Linked DNA regions of Homo sapiens: regions 2, 3, 4, 5, 6 and 7 are each linked to region 1. The links are contacts of gene promoters, found by promoter capture Hi-C in blood cells and fetal thymus (Javierre and others, 2016). All regions are on one chromosome and are shown on one strand. The core of a region is centred on a gene start or on the middle of the fragment in contact, and the rest is flanking DNA. Distances in the headings are between cores, read along the strand shown. Region 1 holds the start of MDM1 (Mdm1 nuclear protein). Region 2 has its middle 23 kb from the start of MDM2. Region 3 overlaps NUP107 (nucleoporin 107). Region 4 overlaps MDM2 (MDM2 proto-oncogene). Region 5 overlaps NUP107 (nucleoporin 107). Region 6 has its middle 3.4 kb from the start of MDM2. Region 7 overlaps SLC35E3 (solute carrier family 35 member E3).

Region 1 (2,992 bases), core at 364-2,863:
GGCCTAGGCAATACTCTTGATGGGCTTTTGTGACATCCCAGCCTTTGTGTAAGGGCACTGGCTTTTTTTAGCTTTCAATATTTAACTTAACCGCTCAGTCAGTACCGAAACAGTTGTGATGGAGGCCTCCATTAGTGAAACCTGGCCTGCCACACTAGCTGCTGGGAATAGTCCTGGCTCATAGTAAACCTTCAATAAATACTTGATTAATAAATGAATAAATCAACCAGGCCAACTGAACTTTTAATATATCATTTGGTAAACTTAGCCCAAGGTTTACTTAGCCCAAGTTATAACGGCTTGGCCCAAGTTATAAACTTAGCCCAGGTTAGAATGGCTATTAGCCTGCTCAACTTACCTAATTGATCTGATCTAAGTCCAGCCCATGGGTACTTTCGCCCCACGGAGGAATTACAAGACTCGGACAAATAAGACTTTTTCCACAGGAAGTTCCTCTGGTATTCACTCAGCCCCTGTAATGCAAAGTACACTTTTGAGTACAGTCCAATTAATGAATGATGTTTTAAAGCAGACATCGGTGAAAAATAATTTCTGAACCTCCCAAAAGAGACTTAAGACTGAAAATTAAACACAGACGAGCTCCTTAATAAGAGCTAATATTCACCCAGCCCTGTGCTAAGCAGTTCACACGTGTTATATCCTTTAATCCACAACACCACTTGAGGCAGATGCTACCAGGAATTCCAGGCTCAGAGGTTACCCTTTCACTGATTATCTGATTCCAAAGCATGAGTTCTTGTCGGATAACTAATGACAATCTAAATTCTCATCATTCTAGATTTATCGCAGGTTTTCACCGAGTACACAATATTATGTACCATGCCTAGGACCTTTTGCTATTTGATAAAGTCAACAAAAGGCAAACTCCCCTTCCATTCTGAATACACGCCTTTAAGATAAATGAGTCAGGAGATGTGGGACGCTGTGGCCACCTGTGAAGTTGCAGGGTGCTAGTCCCTGACAGCTACCAGCTACCTGGAACTTTTAACATACGCTAAGAATGCACAACGATGAAAAACGTGTATTTCTTTATACGCTGTCTTTACTAAGAACCCATTTCTCAAGCCTTTAAAAGCCACATACACTAAAGTTTTAAAGGTAATGGGGGTTAAATGCTAAGCTAAATGGGCCACAGGTGTCCCAATCTGAAGTCGCCTTTAGTTCTCTTCGCAAAGGGACCTCCTCCCATCTCCACTCCTCTTGAGTCCCCCTAAGTAAATGTGTCTCGCACCATCTGACTCTTCGACACACTGCAGCTTGCAAATGTGAGTGAGCGGAGAGGGAACTAGGTTAAGAGGCGGCGGGCAGATTCTGGGGCCCCTCGAGCAGGCCCTGGGGCTGGCAGCTTCCGCCGGGCAGAGGGCTGCAGCGCAGAAAAGCAGCGTGACCTCGGCGCTCCACACCTCCCCGGCCATGGCTCCCCCCAGCCACATTCCGGCCCGGGGACCCCAGCCTCACCTTGAAGCGCACCGGCATGTCGCCCGGCGCCGGAGCCCCCGCTACTCCGACAGTTAACTGGAGAAAAAGCTCCGAGGGGGCGGGGCGATAACAGTGTTCCCTAGCAAAGCCTCGGCCCGGCGTCCCCGACTACGCGCCGGCGCACTCCGCGCTTCCCGCCTAGAGGCCTGTCGGTCTGTTTTTCCCCGCCCTTTTTGGAGCCTAGGGACCAATAGAGACTCGCAGAGTGCCTTACCTCCATTAGGATTTGACCAATGAGTGGCCGAAAGGGAGCCGCCTACCTCCCTTGCCAAATCCCTGGGGCTGATAGAGATGGCGGGCGGAAGGCCGGCCAATAAGGCTCCCGGAACCGGGCTGGGCGGGACCCCGGGGGTGCCTTCCTGGGTTGGGTGGACCGGTCCCTGGTTCGCCGGGTCCTGCGCAGCAATGCGTCTGCTTGCTGGTGGAATTCGCCAGCCGCCAGCCTCGCTGGCCCAGGTGCTTGACAGCATCAAAGGTCAAAGTGTGTTCTTCATGCTAACATCTATGAGAAAACCGAACGCTTCTTTTTCTGAAAGTGCTCAGATTTATTCTGCTGAATATCGGTTCGTACAAACGACAGCCGCATTACAGTTTATTGTCACATCAAAAGGGAAAGGCCAAAAAAATATATAACTTAGGCAAGATTTTTGAAACTTTATTGAAACTCGAAAGACAAACTGCTGTCTCTTCCTCCAGTGATGTTCTTCCTCCTTCAATCTCTACCTTCCCCAAAATGATGTACATACAGCCCTTAGATGAGAAAACGTTTATTGAAGATGGTTGTCTCAACTTCCAAACCTTCAGCCTTGTCTCTCCGCTCAACCTTTTTTTAAAAATAAAACTTCATCTGATTTTAATCGACTATTGCCATCATCGTCGATAAATGTTTCTTGACAGAATACTGCTGATTCTGAGAATTGGGAAAGAAAGAAATTGTCCAGATAGTTCTCTGATATACTTGGGAAGGACATACATCTTTATTTATTTATTTATTCATTATTTATTCAATAATGGTGTAATGTGACATGTGCTAAATTTCTAAATGAAAGGTGTCAATAATAAGGGCTACAGGATCTGGGAGCAGGGAGTCATTTCGGACGGCAGAAGATGCGTCAGGAGGAAATATTCAGACTGAAAGGACTGCAATAAGTAAAAAGTGGGACGATGAAAGGGCAGATGTCTGAATGGAATGCTGCCAGGCTTCTTCCAGGAACAACAAATGAGTGCCTTTTACATTTGTCATGTGTTGACTGAATAAAAGTATACCACTCTTAAACTTTCAAATATCAACACCAATCCTTGATGCTTCCCTTTAAGCATTTTCCGCAAAAGCTGTCTTCCTGAATCCTGATTGATGTCTTTGTTCTTCATCATCATCGAGATACTTAAAAATCATTTGAAGAAGCCACCTGATATCTGGAACAAAGAGCATATTAAATTAGTCCCAATGCAGCCATGCATCCAGGGGGCCCTTGATTAATGTTAATTGGTG
Region 2 (2,860 bases), core at 288-2,787, 450 kb after region 1:
TTCAGTGAGGATTCCATGTTATTATCATTAAAAATGATAATAACATGTTTAATCCTTGTAACAACCCATTTTACAGATGCAGAAACTGGTGTCAGAGCTAGAATACCAATGCAGTGCAGCCACAGAACCCACACTCATAATCTTTAAAGCCTCTTTTAGAGAAAATCACTCCATGGATTAAAACTGCCTTGTTAATGCATATAAAAGTGTGTGTATGTGTGTGTGTGTGTGTGATCTTATTTATCCCTCTTTGCCTTAGGTCTGGGGAACTGGAAGCTATCAAAGCCATTCTGACACCTCGTTGGAATCTATCACTTGAGGGAGGAACAGTAGCCATAAGCTCAGTGAAAAGGAGTTTGTGAATAATTCCCCTGAAAAGTTTCTCTCTCAATTTGAGCAGTCATAGATGCATTGCTTCTTTTTGAACCTGTGTCTTATTCTAATTGAGTTATAAAGAAACAACAATGAACTGTGGAACTGAACAGTCCACTCTGTGACAAGTTCCTCTGTACAGGTTGGTCATTGTGTGACTTTTCTAACTTCCATTATGGTCCAAAAAGGGGGTTACAAGGGTATGATGGCTGTTGTCAGATCTACACAGACAGGCCAGAGGCATGTAATTCCCTCTCTAGGAACAAACATCAGTCACCCTCAGGGGTAAGGGAACCCAGCTGTCAGCTTTGGTAGGAAAACGCAACCTTCTCCAGAACAAGGAAAATAAGACCACCCACCACGTCACATTCTTGAGGTGTTTGTGCTGATCCTTCTCTTTAATCTTAACATTGTGGAATCTCCACGGCTTTGCTTCCTCTCAGCCCGCTCTCACCCACTCCACCCATTCCAATACACAGGCACTGGGTGAAGGACGGAACTTAGCTCAAAAGGTCTCTATCGCTTGAGGTCGGGCTTGCTCCTTCGTGGTAGGCATTCCATCATCTGGATTGCAACAGAACTGCAAACCACATTGCTTTCTAAGAGACTAAACCCAAGAGACTAACCCCAGTCCAGGGCGTAGCCACCTGCCTCTCAGCCCTAATTACAGACTGTACCTTCTGCTCATGAAGGAGCCCTGCTCTAACTTCTGGGAATTATATGGTTGCATTAAGGTATGGACACATTCCTTTTCTCTCTCGACACCAAAAAGGATACTATATCTGCTTGATCAATAGTCTACCTCTGACTTTAAAGTACTTACTAGAGTATAAGTTCCACAAGGGCAGGATCTTGTCTGTTTCTGTTTACCTTCGTATCCCCAGTACTGGCACAATGCCTGGTTCTTAGTATGTGTTCAATAATTATCTGTTGAATAAATGATTAAGTGAGTGATTTAACTGGACACGAAAACAGGCATATCAGCTGGGTGCAGTGGCTCACACCTGTAATCCCAGCACTTTGGGAAGCTAAAATGGGAAGGTCACCTGAGCCCAAAAGTTCAAGACCAGCCTGGGCAACATGGCAAAATCCTGTCTCTACAAAAAATACAAAAATCAACCAGGCATGGTGGCATGCACTTGTGGTCCCAGCTACTCAGGAGGTTGAGGTGGGAGGATCACCTGAGCCTGGGGAGGTCAAGGATGCAGTGAGCCATGATTGTGCCACTGCACTCCAGCCTGGCTGACAGAGTAAGAACCCATCTCAAATAAAATAAAATGGGTATATCAGTATAGTGAAAAAATTAATCATCCATTTGGTCTTTTATTCACTATTCCACAGATTTTATTGAGCACTGATTATGTCAGGCACTCTTTTCTTTTTTTTAGATAGAGTCTCGCTCTGTTGCTCAGGCTGGAGTGCAGTGGTGTGATCTCAACTCACTGCTACCTCTGCCTCCTGGGTTCAAGTGATTCTCCTGTCTCAGCCTCCCAAGTAGCTGGGATTACAGGTACCTACAACCATGCCCAGCTAATTTTTGTATTTTTAATAGAGATGGGGTTTCACCACGTTGGCCAGGCTGGTCTCAAACTCCTGACCTCAGAAGATCTGCCCGCCTTAGCCTCCCAAAGTGCTGGGATTACAGGCATGAGCCACTGCACCCGGCTGCCAGGCACTCTGAAATGCTAGGAATACAAAATTATTAGGCAAAGCAATCTAACCAAGGGGACTTTCCCAACTAATTAGACTCAAAGAAATAGTCTTTTATTCAGTCAGGAGCATGAGTCCTGCACACAGCACCCCGTATTATACTCTGAAAATTAGGAAGAAGTGGAAGATAGTGCCTTTCACCACAGAGCTTTCAATTTAGAGGCCAAAGAGCATGGCCAAATATTAAAAAGTTATGCAAGGACACAGATATGAACAAGGAAATATTAACGTACCACCAGCTGTACCAAAATGCTGCAGTTCTCTGAGTAATCAAGTGATCATTACTCATGGTATCTCAGTCAGATTTCAGACTAGCAAGATCAACCTTGCTAGTCTCTCTTTTAGGAACTCAGTTCTTTTCCTTCTAATGCCTCATCCCAGTTTGCAATTATATATTTATTTGCTTCTTGTATTTCTCCTTTACTATACTGCAAGCTCAAAAAAGGCACAGGTTATATATGTTTTAATCAGGCTATATTTTAAATGCCTTGCACTGTGCCAGTAAATATTCGTTAAATATATGAATTGCTGGGTATGATGGTGTGAGCCTGTGGTGCCAGCTACTTGAAAGGCTGAGGTGGGAGGATCGCTTCAGCCCAGGAGTTCAAGGTTGTAGTGCACTACAGTCATGCCTCGAATAGACTTTGCACTCCAACCTAGCCAACATAGCGAGACCCTATCTCTAAAAGTAAATGAATTAATTAATGAATTAAGGGTCACAGCCAAATTCATGCTTAAAATATTTTGATACTTGGCCAAGAGGATAGTGGCAGTAAAT
Region 3 (2,700 bases), core at 90-2,589, 390 kb after region 1:
CTAAGTATATGCACGTAAGCTATATTTATTCCTTTTTTAAAATTTAAAACACATTATGGAAAATTATTAAGACTTTATTTTCCTAGATCTTAAAATCTAATATTTTCTAAAAATTATATTCTTTTAAAAATGCTTAAACAACTGTAGTAATATTGTATGTACTTGTAACAATAAAATAATTTTAGAATGTATAAATAAAACCTTTATAGTAATTTCTACCCCTTTATGGTTATTCCCCTGAGATGATAAAACATACTGATATGTATCCTTCTATATTTCTCTCCATGATCTTACGAATATGTGTAAATAATGTAGATACTCCAATTTAGAATTTTGATTTTTGTGTTTTTCACATTTTACTACATATATTACTCTACAGCTTGATTTTTTTCATTTAATGATAATCTCCAAGTTAGTTTATTCATTTTCACTTAACCTTATTCTTTTTAATAAATACATAGTGTTCTTTAGAATAATGTATGATTTATTTTAATCATTCCCCTTTGGGTAGTATTTAGGTTATTTCTAGTGCTGTAATGAAGTTACATGTGTGTGTACTTAACTACTAGTCCTTCTGTTTCTTTGGGATAAGTTTCCTGAAAGCAGGGTTACCAGGTTAAGGAGTATAAATAAGTATATGCTTTATACATTGTATATACATACATACAGTGTTTCTGAATGAATTCTCTGAAGACATCAGGTTGTATACCTTAAAAATATATACAATAAAAATAAATAAAAAGGCCAGGTATGGTGGCTCACATCTGTAATCCCAGCACTTGGGAGGCCAAGATGGGAGGATCACTTGAGGCCAGGAGTTTAGACCAGCCTGGGCAGCATAGCAAAACTTCGTCTCTAAAAAAAAAAATTAGCTGGGTATGGTGGTGTACCCACTTGTAGTCCCAGCTCCTCCAGAGGCTGAAGTGGGAGGATCGTGGCTTCAGTGAGCTGTGATTGTACTACTGCACTGGAGCCCAGGAGGTCGTGGCTTCAGTGAGCTGTCATTGCACTACTGCACCCCAGCCTGGGCAACAGAGCAAGGCCCTGTCTCAAAGAAAAAAGAAAAATTAAATAGGTAGGTAGGTAGGTAAAGAAACATTTTGAAATGGATGCTGCATGCCTGTAATCCCAGCTACTTGGGAGGCTGAGGCAGGAGAATCACTTGAACCCAGGAGGTAGAGGTTGCAGTGAGCCAAGATCGCAACGTTGCACTCTAGCCTGAGCAACAAGAGCGAAACTCTGTCTCAAAAAAAAAGAAAAAATTGAAATGGAAAAATAATTTATTACCTGGTTGTGGCAGTTAATTCATACTTCCACAAGTAATTTATTGAATTATACATTCTCACCAGCCTCAAATGTCACACTTTTTATGTTTTGCCAATCCATCAGAGTAGGTGGGAAATAGGAACTTGCTGTTCTACTCACATTTTCTTGTCTATTCATAAGGCTGAGCATGTTTCCTTATGTTTATTGACCATTTGTGAATTTTTTGTTCATATCTTTTAGCTATTTTTCTGTGGTGTTTTATATTTTTCTTATTATTATATAGGAGCACTTGATATAGTAAGGAAATTAATGCTTTTTCTGTCAAGAGTTTATTACCAGTCTATTATTTTGGATATTCTAGCTAATGAAATAAAACAAGAAAATTAAGGAACAGATATAAATACTAGAAAGGGAAGAACATTTATATATGATAAAAATATTAGTCTAGAAACTTAAAGCTCAGTAAGTTACTAGAATTAATAAGAGAATTTGTTAAAGTAGCCAGATACAAGACAACGTTTTTTTTTTAAAAGTCAAGTCTTTCTGTGCTTGTTATAACTATTTAGAAAAGGATTTAGTACCCCCTCCCCAAAAGTTCCATTTAAACGAGTGACCAAAACTAAAGAGATCTAGGAATAAAAAATTAATCCAGGGTTTCAAGCCCTTCATTTAAAAAACTATAGAATCTTACTGAAGGACATAAAATAAGACATAAATAAATAGATATATCATGTTCCTCGATGAGGGCATTTAATATAAATGTCACTCATTCCAAAATTAGCATAAAAACCTAATGCTTTGGGGTATTACTTCTGGACAGAAAATTTTGTCAAGTAGAAGAATAATTGAGAATGGCAAGAGCATTTTGAAAAAGAACAATCTGGGTTTGGTGGCTCACACCTCTAGTCCCAGCAGTTTTGGAGGCTGAAGCAGGAGGATCACTTGAGCTCAGGAGTTTGAGACCGGCATGGACAACATGGCAAAACCCCATCTCTACAAAAAAAATTTTAAAAATTAGCCGGGTGTGGTGGCATGCTCCTGTAGTCCCAGCTTCTCAGGAGGCTGAGGTGGGAGGATCACCTGAGCCCAGGGAGGTGGAGGCTGCAGTGAGCCGTGATTGTACCACTGCACTCCAGCCTGGGCAACAGAGTGAGACTCTGTCTCAAAAACAAACAAACAAACAAAAAAAACCACACTGAAAGCAAAAAAAGTAGTTAGAGGGTACTTGCCTTACTCAATAATAACACTTAATATGAAGATACAACAAAACAGTATAGAACTGACATGAAAATAAATAGATGAGTGGAACACAAAGTCCAAACTAGATCCAAGTATATATGAGAACTTAACAGATGTCAGAGGTGACATTTCATTTCAGAGGGAAAGGGATGGTTTATTTAAATAAATGGCGCTGGCATAATTGGCTTTCCATCC
Region 4 (3,058 bases), core at 264-2,763, 490 kb after region 1:
CTCAGGAGCTTGTTTAGTTCCTAGAATGAATTGACCACTCCCTTGTACTTCCTCTATTCCATATTCAGATTTTATTGTAAAATTGCTTTGTTTTACTTGTGGGTTTTTTTGTTTGTTTTTGAGATGGGCTCTCACTCTGTCACCCTGCTTGAAGTGCAGTGGTAATCTTGGCTCACTGCATCCTCCACCTCCAGGGCTCAAATGATCCTCCCCCTCAGCCTCCCAAGTTGCTGGGACTACAGATGTGCTCCACCACGCCTGGCTAATTTTTCTGTATGTTTGGTAGAGACGGTGTTGCTATGTTGCCCAGGCTAGTCTTGACCTGAGCTCAAGAGATATTCTCACCTCGGCCTCCCAAAGTTTAGGGGTTACAGGCATGAGCCACTGCGTCTGGCTGTTGCACTTGTTTATATTTTTGTTACCTGTGTCCTATTCAGGTTTGCATTGTGCATCACACACTATAGTGTTTTATTAATATGGTATTTAATAAATGTGTTGAATTGAATACTTATTCTTCCAAAGTTAGGATTTAAAGCCCAGAAAAGTATCTCCATTTTATCCCAAAATAAAAGTAGTTATTAGGCTGATGATTTGGCATTTTATTGTTTTAAAGCTCTTTTTTTTTTTGAGCTTTAGATTGTATCCTTTTTATTTCCTTTTTTTTTAATTATTATACTTTAAGTTTTAGGGTACATGTGTACAATGTGCAGGTTGGTTACATATGTATACCTGTTGTTTTAAAGCTCTTTAAGAAATTGTGTGATAGCTAAATATACAATTGTAGTATTTGTAGTAGTAGTTTGAGTTTTCTGAAGTATGTAACCCTGATGTATTCATTCCTTCATTTGTTTAAATAAACTTTGGCACATTACTAGAAAAATTGTATTATTGAGATGGAAACTTACAAATTACTTATTTGCAGTCTGAGTTTGGTTTAGATATCAGTAGAATTAACTTCAGAACTCCTATTCCATGTTCTCAACTTTGTCACTTTTTTTTTTTTGAGATGGAGTCTCACTCTGTCACCCAGGCTGGAGTGCAGTGGTGCGATCTCGGATCACTGCAACCTCTGCTTCCCGGGTTTAAGTGATTCTCCTTCCTCAGCCTCCCGAGTAGGTGGGATTACAGGTGCCTGCCACCACGTCCGGTTAATTTTTGTATTTTTAGTAGAGAAAGGGTTTCACCATGTTGACCAGGCTGGTCTCAAACTCCTGACCTCAGGTGATCCTCCCACCTTGGCCTCCCAAAGTGCTGGGATTACAAGTGTGAGCCACTGCACCCACCCAGCCTAGGGCTTCCTTTTTATTACATCTTTTTTGTAGCATCTGTTTATACTAATCCAAAATTCCTGGACAATATAACCTATTATGTACAACTTAAGAAAATTAGTGTAATGCCTTACCCATAGTATAAAGAGAAAATTAATCTATGATAATGCATAATTTCAAAATGTTAATGTCCAGGCATGAGTTCACTGTTAAGATGAAAATGTTTCCAAGGGGGGTAGTAAAGGGTATTTGATGATAATTGTCTGTATATCCCAACTCTGAAACTTTGACTTTTGAGCTCAAAGTCTGTATATCCAACTACAAATGAAACCTATGTGCCTGAATAACTCAGTTTGTTATCTTCCCATCCAATCTGTTTATCTTTCTAAAGTTTCTCTTTTAGTGAATGGTACCACTCATTTATTCACCCAAGTTGGAATCTTGGAATCATCTTAACTCCTTTCTTCCTTGCCTTCTATATCAAATACCAGGTCTTGTTGGTTTTTACCTATTTAATTTCTCTGGAATTTGTTTTCCATGCCTTAGTTTAGGCTTTAATAGTTTTTAGTTTGTATTATTGCAATTGTCTAATACTGGTTTTCCTGCCTCTGCCCTCTTTTTCTTATGTTTTGCTAGAGTGATTTGTCACTCTTCTGCTTAAAATTACCATTTAGGGGTTCATTATTGCTCTCTGGATGTAATATTTTCTGTGAGCTAGAAATCAGTTTCATTTCTTGGACAAAAATCCTTTTTAATGGTGAGTGGCTGCAACATCGCATTAAGGAAGATTCTGAAGTATCTGCGGGGAAGAATGCAGTGATAAGGGAATGACAGCATGAGTCCTGCTTTGGCTAGACCACAGGATCCTTTACAGTCTGAACCTGCCTACATTCCAGTAATAATGAACTGCTTGTGGTGTCCTGCAACAGGAACTGTTGTTAGTTTGCTTTTGGATACTTTTTCACATGGCGTTTTCTTGGTCTGGAATGGCCTTTCCTAGCCCTATTTTCATATTGTCCTACAAAATATTTCCTGATTCTTTGTTTCTCAGACACTCCCTGTCCCTACCAAAATAATGACTCTCCTGTCTCTCTGCTAATTTATCTAACAGTCTTTTAATGTCTTGATTATACTTTACTCTTCTACATTAAAGTTGAATTATTTTATTTACATCTGCAACATTTAGTATGAGGATGCCACCTGGAAAATACATGTTTAATGTTTATTGAAAGGTTAAATTGCATAAGGGTTTGTGTTAGACTGATAGCATATCTACTGAGTAGCGCCCCGCCGCCCCCCGCCCACCACCAAGTTTCTGATCCTTTTTCTTTTCTCTCAGAATCATCGGACTCAGGTACATCTGTGAGTGAGAACAGGTGTCACCTTGAAGGTGGGAGTGATCAAAAGGTAATCTAAGTAAATTTCTCATTCTAATGTAATATTATTTGCAAATTGGAAAGGTTATTTACAACAAGTTAGCTTACTGGTTATGTTAAGTTTGTTGTATTTTATTTTTTTCCTAAATGCTTAGGACCTTGTACAAGAGCTTCAGGAAGAGAAACCTTCATCTTCACATTTGGTTTCTAGACCATCTACCTCATCTAGAAGGAGAGCAATTAGTGAGACAGGTATATATGAATATTTATTTGACGCATTCACACAGCTTTTTGATATTCTTTCTCTAATGAAATTAGTGCTTTTAGACTTAATTAAATTGTTCCCTTTTTTTGGTTGAGATGAATTAACCTCTGAGTTTTTTTCATTCGTGATTTTATTTGATTTACAAATTG
Region 5 (2,701 bases), core at 96-2,595, 410 kb after region 1:
GTAAGGCACTACATGGGGGGGCGCGGTGGCTCACGCCTGTAATCCCAGCACTTTGGGAGGCTGAGGTGGGCAGATCACGAGGTCAGGAGATCGAGACCATCCTGGCTAACACAGTAAAACCCCATCTCTACTAAAAATACAAAAAATTAGCCGGGTGTGGTGGCGGGCACCTGTAGTCCCAGCTACTCGGGAGGCTGAGGCAGGAGAATCGCGTGAACCCGGCAGGCGGAGCTTGCAGTGAGCTGAGATCGCGCCACTGCACTCCAGCCTGGGCGACAGAGCGAGACTCCGTCTCAAAAAAAAAAAAAAAAGTGGAAATATCCCTAGTGGAAATAATCCGTCTGTTTTACATATTTACCGGCTATTTCAAAGCTTTTGTTCATTCAGATGAGAAAAATGTCTTCAGTTGTAGCAGAGCTGTTTATTTGCTTTTCCTTGTAGCAATTTGCTGGGTCTGTCAGCCATTACCCTGGATAGTTGCTGGCAGCCCGCCCGCTAGTATCGGAATTCATTATAATTAGCAGAAGAGATTGTCTGCAGCACACTCTGATATTATGGCAGCAAAAGGATTTAGTAAAAGCAAGTCTGGGTCCATCCTGTGAGATAAGAAAGTAACCTGCTGCTTTTCGGGCAACAAGGAGTCAGAAGCCAGGGGCACCCGGCCTCTTTAACATAGACAGAAAGACTACATTGGAGCACAAATGGAAAGGTCCAGAAAGAAGCAGTTCTCTTATTCTTACTGGGTTCTAGGTTGGGATCACTAATATGAATTACAAGTAAAACCTTGAAGCATTTTAAATCCACCTCTGAAGGTAGCAAGTATCTATTTGAGAAAAGAAATAAAGGTGCTTCCCTTGTAAAGAAGCACTTTAATATTTGCTTTTATGTATTTATGCTTCAAACAAGACCAAAATATTGATAGTAATTTTTCCTATGTTTGGAAACCTGACCTAGATTAGCCCAAATTAGTACAATTACTCCTTGGTATAATTACCAGATTATACTTTGTTGTTGATTAACCCCTCCACTTACATGTCCATTTGAAAAATGTTTTAGCAATTTAATATAGCCTCTCACATGAAGATACTTTTAGGTATTCCATTAGGCTTTTCAAAGGAGCAGTTATTATTTTAGCTTGTCCTGTTTTTTTTTTCTACACTATTAGTGCTATTGATTTCCTTCCTATTTTTAAGATTATTTCAGAAATTGTAGTGTGTAATTTCTGTAATCCCAGCACTTTGGGAGGCTGAGGCAGGAGGATCACTTGAGCCCAAGAGTTCGATACTAGCTTGGGCAACATAGGGAGACCTCATCTCTACAAATAATAAAATTATTTTTTTTTTTAAATAGAAAAATTAGCCGGGCATGGTGGCACATGCCTGTGGTTCTTAGCTACTTGGGAGGCTGAGGTAGGAGGATTGCTTGAGCCCGGAGATCAAGGCTTCAGAGAGCCATGATTGTACCACTGCATTCCAGACTGGGCGACAGAGTGAGATGCTGTCTCAGAAAAGAAGAAAAAGGTTAAAAAAGAAAAGAAAAAAAAAAGAAATTATGTGGTTGGTTACTTTCTAATTATTTTAATTTTCAAATTTTTTGTAAGTAAATGTAGTGGGCATAAGAGGTTTACTCTTTTTTCTGTACTTTTACTGTTCACATCGATTTTAAGAAAGATCCATGTATGTATAAAGGAATGCCAATTGTTTTTTCTGCTTGTTTTCCTTATATATCTGTTCTGACTCATTAATTGTATTATTCAAATCTATAGGTTCTGTTTTTCTGTTTTTAAAAATTATATAAAGAAATTATAAATTCCATTTTCCATGTGTATAAGCAAAGTAGTCTGCAATGAAGTTGACCCTCCCTGTGTGCCCCTCCCCACATCGTCTTTTTCCCAGCAACAGTCATTGCTGTCAGTCTGTTGTGTCCTCTCAGGCCTCCTTAGAGCTATCTTTATTTATATGTATAAACATCCAAAGGAGTGGTGATTGTTTTCTGTTCTGATTTTTGCTCTAATGATATTCAGTTTCCAACTCATTCTTTTTATGCATGTTTTTATTCAGGACATAGTAAGTTTATTAGAAATACAAATGCAGAAGCATTTTATTTTCACTGTCATACCTCTCTGTAGTCTACGTTGTTCATCTTCATACTTTTTTGCTGTTAAATCTTGTCTACCAATTACATTCTGGGTTTGATTCAGTACCTGGCTTTTCTTTTTGTAAGGATCTTTAGCTTAAATTGTTAAAATGATTTATTGATGTCTGTTTGTAGGATGCCAAAGAAGACCATGAAAGAACACATCAAATGGTCTTACTGAGAAAGCTTTGTCTGCCAATGTTGTGTTTTCTGCTTCATACGATATTGCACAGTACTGGTCAGTATCAGGAATGCCTACAGTTAGCAGATATGGTATCCTCTGAGCGCCACAAACTGTACCTGGTAAGTTCTAGAGCCTTGTAGTTTTAAATTTTAATGATTTGATATGCTCTGTAGTAATATTAATTTTGTGAAGATGTGTTTACATTTGTAATTGCTCTTGGATTTTCTTAAAGTAATAGTCCAGTTTTAATGTTTTAATGTTTGTACTTTTTTCCCAAAATGTGTGTATATTTGTAAGCAGTTAGAAATATATAGACTGACTCTGAGAATTCACCTTGAAATTCCTGAACCACTCTAATTTACTAGGCTCTGGCTACATAAA
Region 6 (2,700 bases), core at 76-2,575, 470 kb after region 1:
TCCTGACCTTCAGTGATCTGCCTGTCTTGGCCTCCCAAAGTACTGGGATTACAGGCGTGAGCCACTGCGTCCGGCCCGGATTTTGCCTTTTAAATAACACTATTCAGTTCCAGATGTTTGGAAAGACATAAGGAATTTGAACTACTTCTGTAATTTTAGATGGTCTCATAAATATTGTGAAACTCAGCATTCTAAACACGGTTTCTGAGCTAAATCTTGTTTAGTTTTCACCATGCTTTAAAGATTAGTTGTGGCCAGGCACAGTGGCTCACGCCTGTAATCCCAGCATTTTGGGAGGGTGAGACGGGTGGATCACCTGAGGCCAGGAGTTCGAGACCAGCCTGGCCAACATAGTGAAATCCCGTCTCTACTAAAAATACAAAAATTAGCCGGGTATGGTGGCACAAGCTTGTAATCCCAGCTACTCGGGAGGCTGAGGCAGGAGAATCACTTGAACCCAGGAGGTGGAGGCTGCAATGAGCTGAGATCGTGCCACTGCACTCCAACCTGGGTGACAGAGTGAGACTCCGTCTCAAAAAAAAAAAAAAAAGAAAGACAAAAGATTAGTTATGACTAATAAATACAAGTACGAAGTGGCCCTTGGGTCAAGATAAGTCTGTTGTAGACTTTTTTTTTTCCCCTTGAGACATGGTCTCACTCTGTCACATAGGCTGGAGTGCAGTGGCAGGATCACACCACAACCTATCCGGGCTCAAGCCATCCTCCCAGCTCTGGCTCCCAAGTAGCTAGGACTATAGGTGAGTGCCACCACGCCTGGCTAATTTTTTTTTGCAATTTATAGAGACAGGGTTTCGCCATGTTGCTCAGGCTGGTCTCAAACTCTTGGCCTCAATAGATCCTCCAGCCTTGGCCTCCCACAGTGCTGGGATTACAGGTGTGAGCCTTGTTTGCAGAGTTTAGGTCCCAGAGAATATAAAGACACTCAAAGTATCTCAACCTCTTGGAACACCTCTTGGGCATCAAGAACAACGCTACTAGAAATAAGCAGTTTGCCTCTAGAGAAACTTCAAGTAAGCACAACAAAGGGCAAAGTGACACAAGATAACTGTGGAATGCAAGCAAACAGCAGCAGCTGGTCTGTATTTTTTTAAATGGCAAAGTCACAAACAACAGCAACTGCTTTTAGAGTGAGCAGGTAGTTTGCTTTCTTTTTTTTCAAATGGAACTCACTTTTTAAGTGATGACATGCACTTGGGGGTGGGTAGGTGTGAGTTCATTTGTGTTTTGAAATCCCAAATTAATGAGCATGATAAACCGCTATTGCTGGCCCTGTCTGACTCTCTACTCTGAGTAATTGGTGGGTTCCCCCCAACCTTCTCCTAACCCTCACCCTTTTTCCCTTTCCATTGACTTGGGACAGTCCTTGTCAAAGTGCCAATCACAGTGGGAAGGAGGAGAAGGGGGGAGGTCACAGTGCATGGGATTCAAGGTCACAGTGGGCGGAGCAACGGGGATCACCAGGCAAGTAAGTCAAGTTCCCGCTGCTCAAGTCCAGCTGTCTGCCACGGTAGTGCAACCCTTGGCGGACGACCCAGGACGCGTTGACGCGGCAGTCGCGCCATCTCTTCTTGCCTGCATTTATCTGCGCTGTTTGAAGCCGTGTGACCCATCAGGACCCAGAGGCTGTCTGATCACATTATTGGGCTGTCTGCTGTCTTCGGGTTAGGAGATCCTGGTTGGCCTGAAGGGAAGAAGATCAGAGGAAGACCTATCGAGGATGGGTTTCTCCTGCTTCTCCTCGGGTTGGCGCTGCCCAGGATCCGCTTCCTGGCCTCGGTGTACTCGGCTTCCCACTGTGCCAGGGACTTGACTGGAAGGGCGGGCCTGCTAGCGGACTTGGGGCTGCTGACCACACCGTTGCTGGTGGGCCTCTTGAGGATGCGGACCTGTGGAGGGGGTCCCGGGGGAAAATTATCATCCTGAATCACAATGGGCACTTTGGGAGATTTGAATTTCCTGCTTTCTGTGTGATCTTCAGTTTTTTTTCCAGACGTCTATTTCCCCGCTGTCTGCCGTCTCCTCCCAGCTCTCAGCAACCTCCTCATATTCCATCTTACTCGCCACTTTCCAGATCGCTTGCTTTCTTATTTCCACATTTTCTCTGACTTTTGCAGTATTCAATATTATTACCTGATTCTGATTTTTCAGACATCACTATATGGTCCTTGGCTTTTTGGTCGTTCCTCTCATTCCTTTGCTGTTTCAAGCTCTGTTCCCAGCCTAAGCTTTTTACCACCGAATTCTGTTCTGTGACCCATAACTTAAAACTAACCCAACTTTTCATTCCCTCCAGACTTTTTTTGGTAAGCAGTATCATCATGCTTTAGGTGGACACTGAGTCATACTGCTGTGGTAGTGCTGGTACACGTAGTTTTGAATACCAGGTTCTTGAGTGAATCCTTTTTACTTCTCTCTCTCTCCCCCACCCCCGCTTCTCCCTTCTGCCTTCATTTCTGACCCTTCTTTTCTGGTTCCATTAGAAAAGGACTAATCTTATCAGTTCTGCCTTTTTTTTTCTGCTCTAATAATTTTGTCAAGATAATTTTTTCAAAGCACAAGGCCAATGAGAAGGGGGAAAGTCGGTCCAGAAGGCAGCCGGCCCGACTATTCTGAGTTTGAATCTACTCTTGGTGGTCCTGTTAAAATACAGTTTGAAGCAAATCACTTGTTTTTATGCTT
Region 7 (2,818 bases), core at 262-2,761, 430 kb after region 1:
AGACCAGCCTGGCCAACATGGTGAAACCCCATCTCTACCAAAAAATTCAAAAAAAATTAGGTGGGTGTGGTGGCATGGGCCTGTAATCCCAGCTACTGGGGAGGCTGAGGCAGAAGAATCACTTGAACCTGGGAGGCAGAAGTTGCAGTGAGTCAAGATTGCACCACTGCACTCTAGACTAGGCGACAGAATGAGACTCCATCTCAAAAAAAAAAAAAGAATAAAAATGAGCAATTTAATAGAAAAAGATCTCGGCCGGGTGCAGTGGCTCACGCCTGTAATCCCAGCACTTTGGGAGGCCGAGGTGGGTGGATCATGAGGTCAGGAGTTCAAGACCAGCCTGGCCAAGATGGTGAAACCCATCTCTACTAAAAATACAAAAAATTAGCCGGGCGCAGTGGCAGGCGCCTGTAGTCCCAGCTACTCAGGAGAATGAGGAAGGAGAATCATTTGAATCTGGAGGGTGGAGGTTGCAGTGAGCCCAGATCGTGCCACTGCACTCCAGCCTGGGTGACAGAGTGAAACTCCGTCTCAAAAAAAAAAGAAAAAGATCTCGAAGGAGGTATGCCGAGATGTTAATGTGTGGGTGGTTGGGATTATAAGAATTCCTTATATTCTTTTTGCTTTTCTTTATTGTCTGATGTACAATAATAATAATGCATATGTATACTTTTTCTTTAGATTAATAAGAAAAATGAACCTGGAAATTCACAATCACAGAAAGGATGTTATTGCAGTATTTTTCGTTGATTCTTGTGGAAAAAATTACGTTTTTTCTAAACACGGTTCATTCTGCTTTTTTACTTGCAATTCTTACTGTCTCCCAACCCCAAATTCTCTTTCTTTTTTTTTTTTTTTTTTTTTTTTTTTTTTGAGATGGAGTCTTACTCTGTCGCCCAGGCTGGAGTGCAGTGGCGTGATCTCGGCTCACTGCAAGCTCCACCTTCCAGGTTCATGCCATTCTCCTGCCTCAGCCTCCCAAGTAGCTGGGACTACAGGCGCCCGCCACTGCGCCCAGCAAATTTTTTATATTTTTAGTAGAGATGGGGTTTCACCATGGTCTCGATCTCCTGACCTCGTGATCCGCCCGCCTTGGCCTCCCAAAGTGCTGGGATTACAGGCGTGAGCCACCGCGCCCGGCCCTCTCTTTCTAATCTTATTTATTAATGGTTGATATTTGAATTTTTTAAAATGCCGAATGAAATGTATCTTTGCTTGATGATTATGATTGCAGTGCTTTGCATTAATGGTTCTTTTGGTTTATTTGTAGCTTATGGTGCTGCTATCTGGAGTAATAGCTTTCATGGTGAACTTATCAATTTATTGGATCATTGGGAACACTTCACCTGTCACGTATCCTTTTCATATAACTTAGAAATGCATCGTCTTTTATATTTTCCAAAACTTTTACATTCATTACCTTATTTGAATCTCACACTAACTATTGCATGGCCTAAATTGAGTAGAGAGAGTTATTTTTAGCCTTTTACTGTATCTTTACCCACTAAAGGATTTTAAAGAAATATGAACTGAAGGGGCAAGTGTGGTGGCTCACACCTGTAATCCCAACACTTCAGGAGGCCGAGGCGGGTGAATCGCTTAAGGCCAGGAGTTCAAGACCAGCCTGGATAACATGGTGAAACCCCGTCTCTACAAAAAATATATAAATTAGCTGGGTAAGGTGGTGCACGCCTGTAATCCCAGCTACTCAGGAGGCTGAGGCACAAGAATTGCTTGAACTGGGGAGTCGGAGGTTACAGTGAGCTGAGATTGTGCCACTGTACTCCAGCCTGGGCAACAGAGCAAGACTCTGTCTTAAAAAAAAAAAAAAAGAAATATGAACTGAGGAAGTGGGTTAGCTTTTTGTGTCATGAATGTTTCTGAATTTTCTTATGTAATAGGTGACCTTTTCCCTTACAAAAATTAACTCAGAGTACCATTTCTTACAGACAGTGAGATTAAATATTTTTTGAATGAATAGTGAGGTGGAGGTTTGGATTTTCAAACAATTTTCAGGTATTTCTAGTAACAAAGTAGAGGAATGGTTAACAAATAACAAAAGATAATTTCAGGCCACTGGCATCTGGCTATGGAGTATGTGTTTGTACTTATTTGGATATGGGTGTGCCTGTTTTTCTCAATATTATTTCAAGTCAAGAAATGAAGTCATTGGCCGGGTGCCATGGCTCACGCCTGTAATTCCAACACTGTGGGAGGCCGAGGCAGGAGGATCGCTTGAGCCCAAGAGTTCGAGACCAGCCTGGGCAACATAGGGAGAACCTATCTCTACCAAAAAAAGAAAAAATAGAAATGAAGTTATATGTTAAAGGTCAAATTCAACTGTCCATTTGTACCATTCTGCTTGTCATCCTGTTTCTCTTCACATTTCACTCTGCCCCCACCCTTAGGCAAATGCAACAAATGAATTTCCCCAGGAAGTAAACAAGTAGGATATTTGCCAACTATCAATAAAAAACAACAACGATAAGTTTTTTAGAAAACCAATACTTAACAAATATTTATTTTGTGTCAGACACTGTTAGAAACATTTTGTATGTATTAGTCCATTTAATTCTCACAGCAGCTCTGTGAGGTAAAGTCTGTCATTTTTGTTTATAGAAAAAATAGAGGCACAGAGAGGTTAACCAACTCACTTAAGGCACACAGCTGACAAATGGGATGTCCAGATTTGAACCCATGCAGTCTAGTCCCCAAATTTGTACATCATACTACCCAATCAAGGCATCCAAATATGTGCTCTGATTTAAAACATTAATTTATTCAATAAGTATTTATTGAATACCCACTAAACCAGTCA

Evidence for each region. Contacts are between HindIII fragments. The CHiCAGO score rates a contact against its expected background, and 5 or more counts as called.
Region 2: a fragment that was not itself captured here is called in contact with the fragment with the promoter of MDM1 in region 1 in 2 of 17 cell types (megakaryocytes and erythroblasts); the score reaches 6.6 in megakaryocytes.
Region 3: a contact is called between a fragment that was not itself captured here and the fragment with the promoter of MDM1 in region 1, in 2 of 17 cell types (megakaryocytes and erythroblasts). The highest score is 9.5, in megakaryocytes.
Region 4: a fragment that was not itself captured here is called in contact with the fragment with the promoter of MDM1 in region 1 in 1 of 17 cell types (megakaryocytes); the score reaches 9.1 in megakaryocytes.
Region 5: a fragment that was not itself captured here is called in contact with the fragment with the promoter of MDM1 in region 1 in 11 of 17 cell types (erythroblasts, megakaryocytes, naive CD4 T cells and 8 more); the score reaches 11.8 in erythroblasts.
Region 6: a fragment that was not itself captured here is called in contact with the fragment with the promoter of MDM1 in region 1 in 1 of 17 cell types (megakaryocytes); the score reaches 8.1 in megakaryocytes.
Region 7: a contact is called between a fragment that was not itself captured here and the fragment with the promoter of MDM1 in region 1, in 1 of 17 cell types (megakaryocytes). The highest score is 6.0, in megakaryocytes.

What each region holds. Positions count from the first base shown.
Region 1 is chr12:68,330,749-68,333,740 of GRCh38, forward strand. It overlaps MDM1 (Mdm1 nuclear protein), which reads right to left and starts at 1,614. Exons shown (of 15, transcript NM_001354969.2): 1 at 1,480-1,614; 2 at 359-473. The coding sequence starts at 1,497. It overlaps LOC105369819 (a long non-coding RNA gene), which reads left to right and starts at 1,883. Exons shown (of 3, transcript XR_945057.3): 1 at 1,883-2,992. RefSeq lists an enhancer at 1,165-1,254 and a silencer at 1,555-1,814. The HindIII fragment of the contact is 10,890 bases long and covers 1-2,992 here.
Region 2 is chr12:68,783,319-68,786,178 of GRCh38, forward strand. No RefSeq gene overlaps it. Among named protein-coding and RNA genes, the nearest start is that of MDM2, 23 kb to the right of the region's middle. The HindIII fragment of the contact is 4,482 bases long and covers 1-2,860 here.
Region 3 is chr12:68,722,351-68,725,050 of GRCh38, forward strand. The region is part of intron 17 of NUP107 (nucleoporin 107); the gene reads left to right. Among named protein-coding and RNA genes, the nearest start is that of SLC35E3, 22 kb to the right of the region's middle. The HindIII fragment of the contact is 6,669 bases long and covers 1-2,700 here.
Region 4 is chr12:68,821,756-68,824,813 of GRCh38, forward strand. MDM2 (MDM2 proto-oncogene) reads left to right here. Exons shown (of 11, transcript NM_002392.6): 6 at 2,608-2,675; 7 at 2,800-2,896. Among named protein-coding and RNA genes, the nearest start is that of MDM2, 15 kb to the left of the region's middle. The HindIII fragment of the contact is 6,178 bases long and covers 1-3,058 here.
Region 5 is chr12:68,739,542-68,742,242 of GRCh38, forward strand. It overlaps NUP107 (nucleoporin 107), which reads left to right. Exons shown (of 28, transcript NM_020401.4): 27 at 2,272-2,439. Among named protein-coding and RNA genes, the nearest start is that of SLC35E3, 5.3 kb to the right of the region's middle. The HindIII fragment of the contact is 1,950 bases long and covers 371-2,320 here.
Region 6 is chr12:68,803,405-68,806,104 of GRCh38, forward strand. It overlaps the pseudogene SZRD1P1. Among named protein-coding and RNA genes, the nearest start is that of MDM2, 3.4 kb to the right of the region's middle. The HindIII fragment of the contact is 1,838 bases long and covers 407-2,244 here.
Region 7 is chr12:68,757,887-68,760,704 of GRCh38, forward strand. It overlaps SLC35E3 (solute carrier family 35 member E3), which reads left to right. Exons shown (of 5, transcript NM_018656.5): 4 at 1,271-1,353. Among named protein-coding and RNA genes, the nearest start is that of SLC35E3, 13 kb to the left of the region's middle. The HindIII fragment of the contact is 7,527 bases long and covers 1-2,818 here.